Linked DNA regions of Homo sapiens: all the other regions are linked to region 3. Evidence: promoter capture Hi-C in human tissues and cell types (Jung and others, 2019). All regions are on one chromosome and are shown on one strand. Each heading gives the region's core, a stretch centred on a gene start or on the middle of the fragment in contact. The rest is flanking DNA. Distances are from core to core; before and after follow the strand shown.

Region 1 (4,685 bases), core at 690-3,189, 370 kb before region 3:
TGCACTTCAGCCTGGGTGACAAAGTGAGATTGTCTCAAAAAAAAAAAAAATTCGATAGAAATAAATAGGTCTGTGGCCCTTTTCTGTCGCAGCACTTTTTTTTTTTTCCTTGAGACAGGGTCTTACCCCATCACCCAGGCTGGAGTGTAGTAGTGTGATCTTGGCTTACTGCAACTTCTGCCTCATGGTTTTAAGTGATTCTTGTGCCTCAGCCACCCGAGTAGCTGGGATTACAGGCGTGCACCACCACACCTGGCTCGTTTTTGTATTTTTAGTAGAGATGGGGTTTCACCATGTTGGCCAGGCTGGTCTTGAACTCCTGGCCTCATGTGATCCGCCCACCTTGGCCTCCCAAAGTGCTGGGATTACAGGCGTGAGCCACCATGCCCGGCCTGTCATAGCACTTAATACAATTTATAATCATGTAATTATTTGAGATTCATCATATATCTGTTTTCTTGTTGTGTGAAGCAAAACGAGGGCAGGAATGGGGTCTGTTTTGTTCTCTACACTATTCCCAGTTCCTAGCATTTAGTAGACTCTCGATAAATACGTGTTGAAAGATTGAATGATTCCCAAAGATTGTGATGAATTCTTACAGCACCCCCAAAATTTCCTCTTCATCTCTTTGTTCAATCATAACAATTTAAGCCTTTCATTCTCAAAGTGTGGCTCAGGGACTCCTGGGGGCTCTTGAAACACTTTTGGGGGTCCATGAGGTGAACATTATTTTCATAATACTACTAAGATATTATTTGCCTTTCACTTTCATTTCCTCTTTGAATATAGTGATGTTTGCCAGAAGCTACAAGACATGAGCTATTTTGACACACTCAGTGCAGAAGCAGATATGAGAATCCAGCTGTCTTCTATGAAGCCAGACATTAGAGAGATTTGCAAAAATGTAAAATGATGCCATTCTTCTCCCCAAATTTTTTCTTTTTTTTCCTTTTTTTTTTTGAGACGGAGTCTTGCTCTGTTGTCTAGGCTGGAGTGCAGTGGCAAAATCTCGGCTCATTGCAACCTCTGCCTCCTGGGTTCCAACGATTCTCCTGCCTCAGGCTCCCGAGTAGCTGGGATTACAGGTGTGTGCCACCACGCCCGGCTAATTTTTTTTTTTTTTGACTTTTAGTAGAGACGGGGTTTCATCATGTTGGCCAAGCTAGTCTCGAACTCCTGACCTCGTGATCCACCCGCCTTGGCCTCCCAAAGTGCTGGGATTACAGGCGTCAGCCACCGCGCCCAGCGCCAAAATTTCTTTTGGAGTAGAAATTATAGTTATTTTAAATAAAAATGTTATTTTGACACATAATGAATTTTTAAACAATGACTATTTTAGAAATTTATTTTAATATTGATAGATACAACTCACATAAACATACAACCCATATAAATGTAACTCATAAATTATTGGAGTCCTTAATAATTCTTAAGAGACCGGAAAGTATGAGAACGGATGACCTAAGTAAATCTTTGAGTTTTTAATTCTTGTCTGCAGCCCTAGTAGGCTTCTGAGCTCTCTTAAGGCAACGTCCCTGTCTGCCTTGTTGGACGCATATTTAAGGTTTGGTTTCTAGTAGGCGATCTTTAAGTAAATGCGAAAGGTTTGAAGGCTAGAAGGAATGAATGAGACGATTCTCCCACTTCCTACCCTCTTCTTCCTTACATGAAGTGGAAGCAAAGTGCATGTGCCAGAGAAAGGCCTTGTCTTAGAGCCCCGCCTGAAGCGTGGCATCGTGGGTGTCGGGGTGGGGTGCGGTGGGGAAGGGAGTGGCGCGTGAGCAGTCAGAGGATGTGCACACGTGCGTGCGTGTGGGGAGAGAGCAGGGAGTTGGGGAGGGCGAAGTGGTTACAGTGTTTGCTACAGCTGTAGGGAAAGAGTGAGGGGGCGCGGCGGCGCATGCGCAGAGAATCGGCGGGAAAGGCCGCGCGCCAGGCAGATCGAGGGGTGTCGCCCAAACCGATCTGTCGACGCCTGAAGGGGCCTGAGGAGATTGCTAGGCTTCTCAGCTGGGGCTTCTTCACCCTCATTTTTGTCCGACTGGCTGGACTGAAGAACCTGGCAGAAGCCTTGGGGCTAGGGTGAGGGTCACGGCCCAGGGAGCCCTAAAATGTTCCCACATCTGGGGTGTGTGGGGCTGGGCGCCATTTTCGAGGCCCGGGCCCACTGGGCTCCACTGACGGGTGACAGGTGACTGGCTGGGAGCCTCCTGGTTGCCCTGGGCTCTGTGGAGCTGAGGGATCAAAGGGGTCCCTCCTTTACCCCCCACGTAGGACAGAGGAAACTGTCTTCGGCTCTCCTCACTCATCCAGTCCGAGTTTGAGCCAATTCCTTGACAGGATTCGGCCATCAGTCCCTGCCTTTGGGGAAAGCCATCAGTGTCAAGTGCCCGAGTGGCAGAAACCCGGGTCTAGCCCCATCACTGGTCTGTTAGGGCAGTTATTTTCTGCTTTTTGCAGAAATGGGACACCAGCTCCTTATTTTCCTTTTCTGGAGGTTATAGTTCCAGGGAAGGAGGTAATGTGAGGGGAATGGGCATTTCTGGGGGATCCTGAGCACTCCCCACAGGGCATGAGCCTAGGAGTTGCTTGGGATGACGGTGTAGGGGCACCATGGAGGGTTGCACCCATATGGGAAGAGGAGTCCGCCTGGGGCTCAAGGGGCTTTATGGATGTTGGAAGTGGCCAGCTGGCCAAAACTCAGTTCTCTCCCTTCCGTAAAGCTTGCTTTTAAGGACAACTGTTCTAGAATGTGTTTAAGAAACATGAATCTATTATTTTTTATTTATTTATTTATTTGAGATGGAGTCCCACTCTGTCACCCAGGCTGGAGTGCAGTGGCACGATCTCAGCTCACTGCAACCTCTGCTTCCCAGGTTCAAGCGATTCTCCTGCCTCAGCCTCCCAAGTAGCTGGGACTATAGGCGTGCGCCACCACCCCCAGCTAATTTTTTGTATTTTTAGTAGAAACGGGGTTTCACTGTGTTGGCCTGGCTGGTCTCGAGCTCCTGACCTCAGCCGATCCACCCGCCTCAGCTTCCTAAAGTGCTGAGATTACAGGTGTGAACCCCCGTGCCCAGCCTATTATTATTATTTTTAAGAGACAGGGTCTCTCTCTGTCTCCCAGGCTGGAGTCCAGTGGCATGATCACCTCTCACTACAGCCTCGAACTTCTGGGCTCAAGCAATCCTTCCACCTCAGCCTTTCAAAGAGCTGGGATTACAGGCTGAGCCACTGGAGGCTTGGTTTTCACTTATTTTGGGTGTATACCCAGAAGTGGAATTGCTGGATCATATGGTAATTCTATTTTTAAGTTTTTGAGGAACCACCATAGTGTTTTCCATGGTGGTTGCACCATTTTACATTCTGACCAGCAAGGCACAAGGATTCCAATTTCTCCACATCCTCACCAACACTTCTTATTTTCTGCCTTTTTATATTAGCCATCCTAATGGATGCGAGGTATTATCTCATTGTAGTTTTCATTTGCATTTCCTTAATGATTAGTGACGTTGAACATCTTTTCATGTACTTCTTGGAGATTGGTATATCTTCCTTGGAGAAATGTCTATTTAAGTCTTTTGCCCATTTTTGAATTGTGTTGTTTGTTTCTTTGTTGTTGAGTTTTACGAGTTCTCTATATATTCTGAATATTAATCTCTTATTATACATATGATTTTCAGATATTTCCTCCCATTCTGTGGGTTATCTTTTCACCCCTTTGATAGTGTCTCTTGATGCACAAATTTAAAACATTTTAATGAAATCCTGTTTGTTTCTTCTTTTGTTGCTTTTGCCTTTGGTATCATATCCAAGAATTCATTGCAGATCCACTATCATGAAGCTTTTGTCGTATGTTTTATTCTAAGAATTTTATAATTTTAAGTGTTACATTTAGGTCTTTGATTTATTTTGTGTATTTGTATGTGGTGTTAGGTAAGAGTCCATCTTTACTCTTTTGCCTGTACATAATCCAGTTTTCCCAGCACCATTTGTTGAAAAGACTGTCCTTTACTCATTGAGTAGTCTTGGCACCCTTGTAAAAAATCATTTTTCCATACATTGTTTCTGGGCCCTCTATTCTGTTCCCTTGGTCTGTATCTTTATGTGAGTAACACACTATTTTGATTACTATAGCTTTGTAATATGTTTTGAAATCAGGAAATGTGAGTACACCAGCGTTTTTCTTCTTTTTCAAGATTATTTTGGCTGTTCAGGGTCCCTTGAGATTTCATGTTAGTTTTAGGACGTGTTTTTCTATTTCTGCAAAAAAAAAAAAAAAAAAAAAAAAAAAAAAAAAAAAAAAAAAAAAGCTACTAATTCTGTAGATTGCTTTGGGTAATACTGACATCTTAACAGTGTTGTCTTCCAACCCATGAACATGGGATATTTTTCCATTTATTTATGTCTCCTTTAATTTTTTTCAGCAATGTTTTGTAGTTTTCTTTGTACATGTCTTTCACCTTCTTGGTTAATTCTTTTTTTTTTTTTTTTTGAGATGGAGTTTCACTCTTGTTGCCCAGGTTGGAGTGCAATGGTGCAATCTCGGCTCACTGCAACCTCTGCCTCCCAGGTTCAAGTGATTCTCCTGCCTCAGCCTCCTGAGTAGCTGGGATTACAGGCATGTGCCACCATGCCTGGGTAACTTGGTAATGGAAACGGGTTTTCTCCATGTTCGTCAGGCT
Region 2 (5,077 bases), core at 1,113-3,612, 470 kb before region 3:
TGGGGGCTGGATTGCAGGGGTGAAAGGAGATAAGAGGCCTTGAGCTCTTGGTTCCTGAGTTAGAAAGGAATTGGGAGCTCTGAGTCCTCCAGAAATAGGGTCTGGGGTCTGGGCTCTGCAGAGTAGAGGGGTAGGGACTTGAAGAAGAGAGCTTTGGGGCAGGACTCTCAAGTCTGTTATTGAAGATGGAGCTAGGATTTCGGCATCTCCGGGGCCAGTCTGGGCAGAGAAGCATAGGTCTGTGTTCAGGTGGAGGTGGAGGCGGCCGACACATCGATGGGACAGGCTTACTTGAGGTCCTGGGGTCTCTTACCTGCTCTGGTGTCCAAGGTAACAGCAGATAAGCAGAGCTGGATGCAGAGAACGGTGAATGTTGCAGAACAGATCTGGGCAGGGCGGTGGGAGGTAGGGTCTCAGGGGCACACAGGTGACGCACCTCACCCCCTCCCAGGGGATCCTGGGAGCCTAGCGACAGACTTAGACTCTTAAAGGGACAGAAGTAAAGGACATTTTCTCTGGGGTGGGGAAGGGAGTTAGAAACTGGATTGATCTAGTGGAGATGTGGCCCAAATTATTTTTTTGAAACCAGTGGTCCTGGCCCTCTACCCTCTCCTACCTGAAAACCCAGGGGTCTAGTTCCCTGGTACCTTCCTATTTCAAGTCCCCTAAGTTGTATCCCCCAGCTCCCTCCCCCCAGACTCAGAACTCCAGTCCTCTAGCTCCTTCCTTCCTCAGATTCAGGAATCCAAGTCCCCAGCCTCCTCCTTCCCCAGAACATAGGAATCTGGGTCCCTGTCCCATCCACTCTTAGACTCAGGAGTCCAAGCTTCTGCCACCACCTTCCTAGGAAACTAGGAGCCCAAGTTCCCACATCCCAAGTTTCTACTGCTCTGTAGGACTTCCAAGTTTTGCCCATCTTCTCCTCACTGTGTATAAAGGCCCCTCTTTTTAAATTTTTTTTTTTTTTTGAGACAGAGTCTCACTCTGTTGCCCAGGCTGGAGTGCAGTGGTGCGATCTCAGCTCACTGCAACCTCCCTCTCCCAGGTTCAAGCGATTTTCCTGCCTCAGCCTCCCAAGTAGCTGGGATTACACCACACCTAATTTATGTATTTTTGTAGAGAAGGAGTTTCGCCATGTTGGCCAGTCTGGTCTCGAACTCCTGACCTCAAGTGATCCACCCACCACGGCCTTCCAAAGTGCTGGGATTACAGGCATGAGCCACAGCACCCGGCTGAGGCCCCTCTTAAGAGTCAGTGTGGACTGGGTGTGCTGGCTCACGCCTGTAATCCCAACACTCTGGGAGGCCAAGGAGGGCAGATCACAAGGTCAGGAGTTCAAGACCAGCCTGGCCAACAGTTTGGCGAAACCCTATCTCTACTAAAAATACAAAAATTAGCTGGGCGTGATGGTGGGCACCTGTAATCCCAGCTACTCGGGAGGCTGAGGCAGGACAATGGCTTGAACCTGGGAGGTGGAGGTTGCAGTGAGCCGAGATAGTGCCATTGCACTCCAGCCTGGGCAACAAGAGCAAGACTCCATCTCAAACAGACAAACACACACACACAAAAAGAGTCAGTGTGAGGAGGACTGGGCTTTAATCTTCACAGCACCCCCAAACTCCTCCCAGATAAGGGCTTAGACACATCCTTAGGGCAGCTCAGGAGCCCTGTCTGTTTTCCCCTCTTCTCACTCTCTGAGGTTTTTCTGATGTGGTCTGTCACTTTTCCTGTCCTCACACCCCTGCCACACGTACCCTTTGCCATTTCTTGCCTTTCCCCCCTCCCTACCTCACCCTCGATCTTTCTGGGCCTCTCGCTGCTGTATTTATCTCTGGGCAGCTCCTTCCAGACCAGGACGTCCTTCCATTTCCGTCTGTCTTTCTGAGAGCCTTTTCTTTCCCTCCTCCATCTCCATCTGACTGTTCGTTTCCATCTCCTTCGCTCTCTTTTCTTGTTTTCTTCCTTTTCCTTTCTTTTTCTGTCGTTCCCATTCTTTCTCTCTATTTCTTCCTCGGCCACTCTGTCTTTGTCCTTCTCTTTGTGTCTCTGTTCCTCTGACGGTCCTTCCGCCAGTCTCTATTTTTAGCCCTCTGACACACCCCCTGTGTCCACCTCTCTGTCTGTCTGTCTCTCCCCCTCCCTCGTCTCAGGTCCAGCTTCTGGTCCCAATTAGTTGGTGGCGGCCAAGGCAGCGGCAGGTCCCCCACCCCCGGCTCCTCATTACCGCTGGCGGCTCCTAATGAGCCTGGGGAGGGGGTGACCCCGCGTCCCCGGCCCCCCGGCCTGCGTCACTGCCCGGTGCGGGGGCTGCGGAGGCGATATAAGGGGGCTGCCACCATCGCTGCCCCAGCCCACTGCACGGTAGGGGACTGTGCGGGAAGCTGGGGGTGGATGCATGGTGGGGCCCGGGGTTCTGGGCCGGGATGCAGCCCTACTGAGCCCCTTTCTGGTTCTCCACAGGTGATGGAGACCCGCCAGGTGTCCAGGAGCCCTCGGGTTCGGCTGCTGCTGCTGCTGCTGCTGCTGCTGGTGGTGCCCTGGGGCGTCCGCACTGCCTCGGGAGTCGCCCTGCCCCCGGTCGGGGTCCTCAGGTAGGTGCCAGTCCCAGAACTCCCAGGGAGGGGTGGGAACTTGGAGAAGTGGGAAGAGAACCAAAGAGAAAGGGGACGGAAGATCCAGAAAGCGGAACAGAAGCCCAAAGAGAGGGCGACCGAGACCCAGCGAGAAGACAGAGACTAGGGGTGGGGGAAGGCGGGAGGAGGGTTTGGTGGTAGTGGTGGTGCGGGAAATGGACAGAAAATCAGCAAGGGAAAGAGACACAGAAAGATAGATCCCGAGAAAGGCGTGGAGAGGCTCGAAAGGAGTCGTTGCAGAAACGGATTCATTCTTTGAGCAACGTTTATTGGGTTCTTGGTGTGCGCCTGGCCATGCGCTGAGCGCTGTGGGCGGACAAGTGCATCAGACTCGGTCTCAGTACCTGGGGAGTTTCGAACCTGGTGAGCAGAGAGACAGAGACCCACACAGAGAACGAGAGAGACAGGGGGAGCCGGACCGAGCCACTCCACGGACTGGGCAGTAACGGGGCTTCGAGTTAGACCGCGGGGAGGACAGGCGGCGGCAAGAGCGAGTCTGGACGCGCGGTCACCGCGTCTCTCCACAGCCTCCGCCCCCCAGGACGGGCCTGGGCGGATCCCGCCACCCCCAGGCCGCGGAGGAGCCTGGCGCTGGCGGACGACGCGGCCTTCCGGGAGCGCGCGCGGTTGCTGGCCGCCCTCGAGCGCCGCCACTGGCTGAACTCGTACATGCACAAGCTGCTGGTGTTGGATGCGCCCTGAGCGCGCTGCCCGTCCCCATCTTAATAAAGACCATGCCCTGCGCTCCGGACTGCGCCTAGTTCCTGCGCGACCTGCGTGTGCGTTGGGTTGGGGGCGCGGGGCTTGAAATGGGGGGTAGAAAAGAGACAGGACTCTGTGTCGGCCACTCTGGCATCTCTCTCCTCAGTCCCCACTCTATTTTCTTTCCTCAATTCCGTTTCTCTCTGCCTGTCTTTGTCCAGGAAGCTGGCTTCTTTCCTATTTCTGGATCTCTGCTTCCCTATCGCCCCCACCCCCCCGCCCCCTCCTTTCATTCTGGGCCCCTGTCCCTCCCTACCCCCATCTCTGTCCCCTTCTCTCTGGTTCTCTGTAATCTCCAAGGTCTCTGTCCTCCTCCGTCTCTGTCCCTTTCTCTGGGTCTCTTTCCTCTCTGGGTATGTGTCCCCGTCTCCCTGGGTCCTTGTGGTTATCTCCCCTTTCACCCTTTTGGCTTTCTGGTCTTCTGGGAATCTCTGCCTCCTCTCTCTATTCTCCTTCTGCCTCTGAAACTCTTCCTTCCCTTCTCCATCACTTTCTTTTTTCCTTTTTCCTCTGCCTGACTCCTTCATATCTTCCTTTTCTTTCCTCCGTTAGGTTTCTATCTGTCTCTCCATCAGCTCTCATCTTTGAATTTCGCTGTTCCTCCCTCCCATCACTTCCAGACTTCTCCCCAGGCACAGTGGAAAGATCGCGGGCTCTGGTGTGAGGCAGCCCTAGCATCCAAACCCAGGGTCCTCCAAATCTAGCTGCGTAGTACTGAGAAAGCCTTCTTGACGTCAGTCTCTGTGTCTCCTTTTCTTCATCTGTTACGAGGATCCAATAAGATATACTTCATAAGACTTCAGTACAGCGCCCGTTACGTAGCAAAACGCTTTTATTTGAAAAGGGTTTCCTCTTCTCACAGCAGCGTCCAGCAATTTTTTTCAGGGTTTTCTGACTTCGGGTCTCCTTCTCTAGAGACCTTCGGGGCGCCAGGCTGGGGCAGGAGAAGAGAAAGGAGCAGGCGTCAGGCTCCAAAAAGGACAGGGAAAGGGCGGGAAGATACCTGGGCTGCAGGTGAAGCGAGAAAAGAGCCAATCGAAATCTGTCTCTCTCCCCGGAGGTCCAGCCTGCCCTTCAGCTCCGCCCCTCGTGGTAACCATGGCAACCCGGTGGTCCGCAGAGGGCTAGATCAGCGCGCCTGGGGCGCCGTTCGTGCGGACCGCGCTCTCATTGGTTTAAAGAAGAGAGTGGAGCCGGCCGCGTCTGCTGCGCGGGAAGCGGGGCCGCCGCGCGTGTTTGGCAAGGCGTCCCAAAATTTGCATTTTCGGGAGGCGGACCGAGCCCTAATTGGCCCTTGGACTGTGGGGGCGGGACTGTTTCCTCTGTCCTTCCGAATAACAAAGGAAAGACTGCATTCCTCAAAACTATCTGGAGTTGGCCTAATTTTACAAATAAGACTGAAAGTCAGGAGGAATTTTCCTAAGTTGTTAGAGCTACTAAGCGACAAAAGAATAACTGGAATCCGGGTATGTGCAATTTCAAAAGTCTAGACTTTTCCGCCACTCTCATGGAGAAATGGAATGAAAATGTGAATGAGCAGTTGCTATATAGCAGGCACTCTTCTAAGTGCTGTGCTTGCATTAACTCTTTTAACCTCACAAAGACCCTATGAAGAGCCTCCTCCTGTTTCCCCGCGGGCCTGGTAGCTGGGTACTGGCCTGGTCTCTTCCCACACTCTATTT
Region 3 (4,580 bases), core at 1,290-3,789:
AATTCTAGCTACTTGGGAGGCTAAAGCATGAGAGTCACTTGAACCCGGGAGGCAGAGGTTGCAGTGAGCCGAGATGGCGCCATTGCACTCCAGCCTGGGCAACAAAGTGAGACTCTGTCTCAAAAAAAAAAAAAAAAAAAAAAAAAAAGAAAAGAAAAAGTCTTTCCAGCAGCCCGAAAAACTCCACACAATCTGCCCCTGCCCAACTGTGCCTTCCTTTCCCACCCTCTCCCCAGTTCACTCTGTTCCAACAGCACTGGCCTCCTCCCTACTGTCAAAAGATGAGGCTTGGTCCTACCTCAGGGCCTTTGCACTTGCTGTTCCCTCTACCAGATGCCTCTTCCCCCCGATCACTATAGATCACTGCATGCTTCTTATCATTCTAGCTTTGGCTTTAATGTCACCTGCTCTTTGATGTCACCTGCCCTTAGAAGTCTTTCCTGGCTTGTTGCGGTGGCTCATGCCTGTAATCCCAGCACTTTGGGAGGCCAAGGCAGGTGGATCACTTGAGGTCAGGAGTTCAAGACCAGCCTGACCAACATGGTGAAACCCGTCTCTACTAAAAATACAAAAAAAAAAAAAAAAAAAAAAAAAGCCAGGGATAATGGTGCACACCCATAATCCCAGCTACTCAGGAAGCTGAGGCAGGAGAATCGCTTGAACCTGGGAGGCAGAGGTTGCAGTGAACCAAGATCATGCCATTGCACTCAAGCCTGGGCAACAAGAGCAAAACTCCATCTCAAAAAAAAAAAAAAAAAAAATAGAAATCTTTCCTGACCACTCTGCTAAATCACACTGCCCACTTTACTTCACCCCTGCACGTGAACTCCCTGAGAGCAGGGATGTAGCCTGCTTTGTACAGTGCTGTGTCCCAGGTGCCAGGTATAGGCCTGGCACATAGCAGGTCCAGTAAATGCTTGTTGAATGAATAAAAGAAGGAGCAGACACCCAGTGCACAGCCATCTCTCTCCATGCCCTCTGTGGTCACTGGGCCACTGCAGGGGGTTGATACCACGATCCCCAGGTCCTCACAGATCTGAGGGGGAGCATCCCTGGGCTCACTGCCCTGCAGCTGCCCACCTTGAGCACCAGTTTGCTGGCAAAGTAGAAAAGGGCGACAACCCGGCCCCAGTTGAAGTTGCCGTCAGAAAACATGTCAGCTGCCACTCGGAAAAAGACCTCTCGGGGGGAGTCTGTGTCCACGGCGGCAATCATCCTGCAGGAGAGAGGAGAACCAGTGCCGGGGAGCAGGCATCAGGCTGATGGTGGAAAATTCCCGCATCCACCGCACACTAAAGATAAGGAGACTGAGCCCCAAGCCAGGCTGAAATGAAAAGCAACAGGCCAACGGGGGACAAGGGAAGGGGACAAGACAGACATTTAGGAAGGTGGGAAAAATGACTCCCTGAAGGAGGGTTTTAAGATCCTGGCAGAGAGGAGGGCTGGGAGTCCGGAATGTTTGCGCTGAGTTGTGGGGCCCAGACTCCTAGTTCTTAGGGGAGGAGGAGAATGCGGGGCTGAGAGTCCTGTGTCCTGAAGGAGCCCAGTGGCTGGACTTCTGGGTCCTCAGGGGCCCACACCTCTGCAGCTCCATGTTACTGTCCAGTTCGTCCCCGATGCGCTTGAGACACTCGCTCAGCTTCTTGGTGGACGCATCCTGAGGCACCGGGTCCAGGGCCAGCTCGGGTGCCTCCCCCCCCATTCGCCCTGCTCGATCCTGGATGAAACTAGAGTGGGGATGGAGTGAGGGTGCAGAATCAGAACGGGGTGTCACTCCTCAAATCTGTGCCACAATAATCAGACCTCAAACTCACCCCTGAAGCAAAAGGGCCCCTGTCTTCATGATCTGCTCAGAGCTGGTGGGCCCTAGAGGAGAAAGGAAGGGAAGAGGTACCTGGACTCTTGGGTTCTAGGGGATCAGGAGACTGTGGAGACTCACGGCCCCTGAGGGAGGACAGAGCTGGGGACCCTGGACTTCTGGGACCCTAGCAGATAAAGTGACGGGGGGGCCCAGACAACTGAGTCCCTGATGGAGAAAGGCCAGGAGGCTGGGCCTGTATCCTACATTCTCCCCGGGGAAAGAGGCTAGGGGAACGCTATATGCATCCAGACCCCTGGCCTGAGGGGGCAGAGGCGAGACCCGCCCCTCCCACCAGTGCCAGAGGCAGGAAGTGGTGCGGGCGACAAGCCCGGGCCTGCCCGGGGGCTTGGCTTCCGAGATCCCCTGGTTCTCGAGGGTCCGAGAGCGCCAGAGAGGCAGGGATCGGGACACGGGGATCAGAGAGCCAGGAACCTCCGAGGACGGAGGGGACTGGAGGCTGGCAGCGCCCGATCCGGGAGTTTCTGCCCCTCAGTGCTTGGAGATCGCACAGCCCCAGGCCGGTAGGAAGGATCCCGGACGGGCCGGCGAGGGGGCTCGCCCTCCTCCCGCCCGTCTGCCTCCCGCCTCACCCCCGCCTCTGGGCTGCTCCCCGGACCCGTCCATCACCGCCGCTCCCGCCGCCGCCTCTCGCCGGGTCCGCGCGGGCGGCCGCAGCGCGCCCGGGTCACGTGAGAGCCCCGCTGAACGTGCGTCCTTCACGTGGCCGCCCCGCAAAATGGCCGCTGCCCCGCAGCGCCGCCGGGTCACGTGACCGCACCTGCCTCGCTCCCTCGGGAGGTTTGGTCCCGTCACGTGACTGTCCAATGAGCATCTCCCGATAAGTGCCAGCAGTGGCGCCGTCCAACAGCCGTCCGTCCAATCGCAGCTCTAATGCCTTCATTTATCCAGGCACCATTTTTAGAAGTTTCGGGCAGGGTTTGAGCTCTCCCCAGCGCAGAAGGAATTAGCAAGTGCAAAAGCTCAGAGGCCCAAAATAGCATGCTTCCAGGCAGGACGTTATAGATGACTAAAAACTGAGTGGTTTTGTTTTTTGCAGAGACCTGGATCTAGCAATATAGCCCACGCCCAGGCTTGTCTCTAACTTGTGAGCCCAAGAGATAACCCCGTCTCAGCCTTCCAAAGCGCTGGGATTACAGGCATGAGCTACCGCGCCAGGCCTGCTTTTCTGTTTGTTTGTTTTTTCCTGTTTTTTTTTTTTTTTTTTTTGAGACAGGGTCTCACTGTGTTGCCCAGGCTGGAGTGCAGTGGCCCAATCATGGCTCACTGCAGTCTGGAATTCCCGGGCTGAAGCCTCCCACCTCAGCCTCCTGAGTAGCTGGGACTACACCGCCCCTGGTTAATTTTTAAAACTTTTTATGTGGAGATGAGGTCTCTCTATGTTGCCCAGGCTGGTCTCTGAACTCCCAGACTCAAGCGATCCTCGCACCTTGGCCTCCCAAAGTGCTGAGATTACAGGCTTGAGCCACCCCACCCAGTCATGACTCGAATGTTTGTGTTTGTGTAAAAAGAAAAGGAATATGAAGTTTAAAAAGTGGCAGAAACTAATCTGTGCTGATAGATCAGCAGGGTATGGAGGGGAGGGGCCACAAGAGACACTCCCCGGGTGCCCCAAATATGCCATATTTTTATCTGAATGGTGTTTACATGGGTATACACATTATTATTATTATTATTATTATTATTATTATTATTATTTTGAGACGGAGTTTTGCTCTTGTTGCCCAGGATGGAGTGCAATGGCACGATCTCGGCTTACTGCAACCTCTGCCTCCGGGTTCAAGCAATTCTCCTGCCTCAGCCTCCCAAGTAGCTGGAATTGCAGGCATGCGACACCACGCCCAGCTAATTTTGTATTTTTAGTAAAGATGGGGTTTCACTATGTTGGTCAGGCTGGTCTCAAGCTCCTGACCTCAAGTGATCCACCTGCCTCGGCCTCCCAAAGTGCTGGGATTACAGGCGTGAGCCACTGTGCCCGGCCGGGTATACACATATTTACAATTCATTGAGCTGTACACATAAGACTTGTGTGCTTTATGAATATTATGACATGTCACTTTAGACAGAAAATAATAGCAACTAAGGAAAACTCAGAAAAATGAGCTAGGATCAGATGATAAAGGGTTTGGGCCTGTCAGAGAAGGGACTTGATCTATGTCCAGAAGGCCGCTGGGAAGCATGGGGAAATTTTGAGCAGGCAAAGGGCAGAGTCAGACTAGGGTGTCAGGAAGATCTCTTGGACTTCCTTCTTTCTCGAAAAAGCTCCTGGTTGGGCTCAGTGGCTCACTTCTGTAATCCCAGCACTTTGGGAGGCCGAGATGGGTAGATCACCTGAGGTCAGGAGTTTGAGACCAGCCTGGCCAACACGGTGAAACCCTATCCCTACTAAAAATTCTAAATTAGCCAGGTGTGGTGGCAGGCACCTGTAGTCCCAGCTACTCGGGAGCTGAGGCAGGGGAATCGTTTGAATCTGGAGGCAGAGGTTGCAGTGAGCTGAGATCGTGACCTTGCACTCCAGCCTCAGTAACAAGAGGGAAACTCCAACTCAAAAAAAAAAAAAAAAAAAAAAAAAGCTCGCATAGCACCCAGGATGTGTAATGCTTCTCACAGCTGTAAATGTGTGCAGTGTTTTAATTTCATGTTGGTTTTTTTCATCCACCCAAAATTTCCACAAGGTTAATTTGTCCTCAATTCTCCCAGA

What was found. The method cuts DNA at HindIII sites, captures the fragments that hold promoters and counts their contacts. A contact is called where the count stands out against the background at its distance.
Region 1: a contact is called between the fragment with the promoter of SLC6A16 here and the fragment with the promoter of BAX in region 3, in 1 of the 25 tissues and cell types used here (liver).
Region 2: a contact is called between the fragment with the promoter of PTH2 here and the fragment with the promoter of BAX in region 3, in 1 of the 25 tissues and cell types used here (spleen).

What each region holds. Positions count from the first base shown.
Region 1 is chr19:49,322,445-49,327,129 of GRCh38, reverse strand. It overlaps SLC6A16 (solute carrier family 6 member 16), which reads left to right and starts at 1,939. Exons shown (of 12, transcript NM_014037.3): 1 at 1,939-2,082. RefSeq lists an enhancer at 626-775. The HindIII fragment of the contact is 19,669 bases long and covers 1-3,284 here.
Region 2 is chr19:49,420,726-49,425,802 of GRCh38, reverse strand. PTH2 (parathyroid hormone 2) reads left to right here and starts at 2,362. Exons shown (of 2, transcript NM_178449.4): 1 at 2,362-2,591; 2 at 3,161-3,384. The coding sequence starts at 2,464. The coding sequence ends at 3,335. GFY (golgi associated olfactory signaling regulator) reads right to left here and starts at 415. Exons shown (of 4, transcript NM_001195256.2): 1 at 314-415. RefSeq lists a silencer at 2,043-2,246. The HindIII fragment of the contact is 12,103 bases long and covers 1-5,077 here.
Region 3 is chr19:48,952,834-48,957,413 of GRCh38, reverse strand. BAX (BCL2 associated X, apoptosis regulator) reads right to left here and starts at 2,539. Exons shown (of 6, transcript NM_138761.4): 1 at 2,452-2,539; 2 at 1,815-1,866; 3 at 1,581-1,727; 4 at 1,081-1,216. The coding sequence starts at 2,485. RefSeq lists enhancers at 2,065-2,274, 1,724-2,291, 2,292-2,860 and a silencer at 2,395-2,544. The HindIII fragment of the contact is 13,021 bases long and covers 1-4,580 here.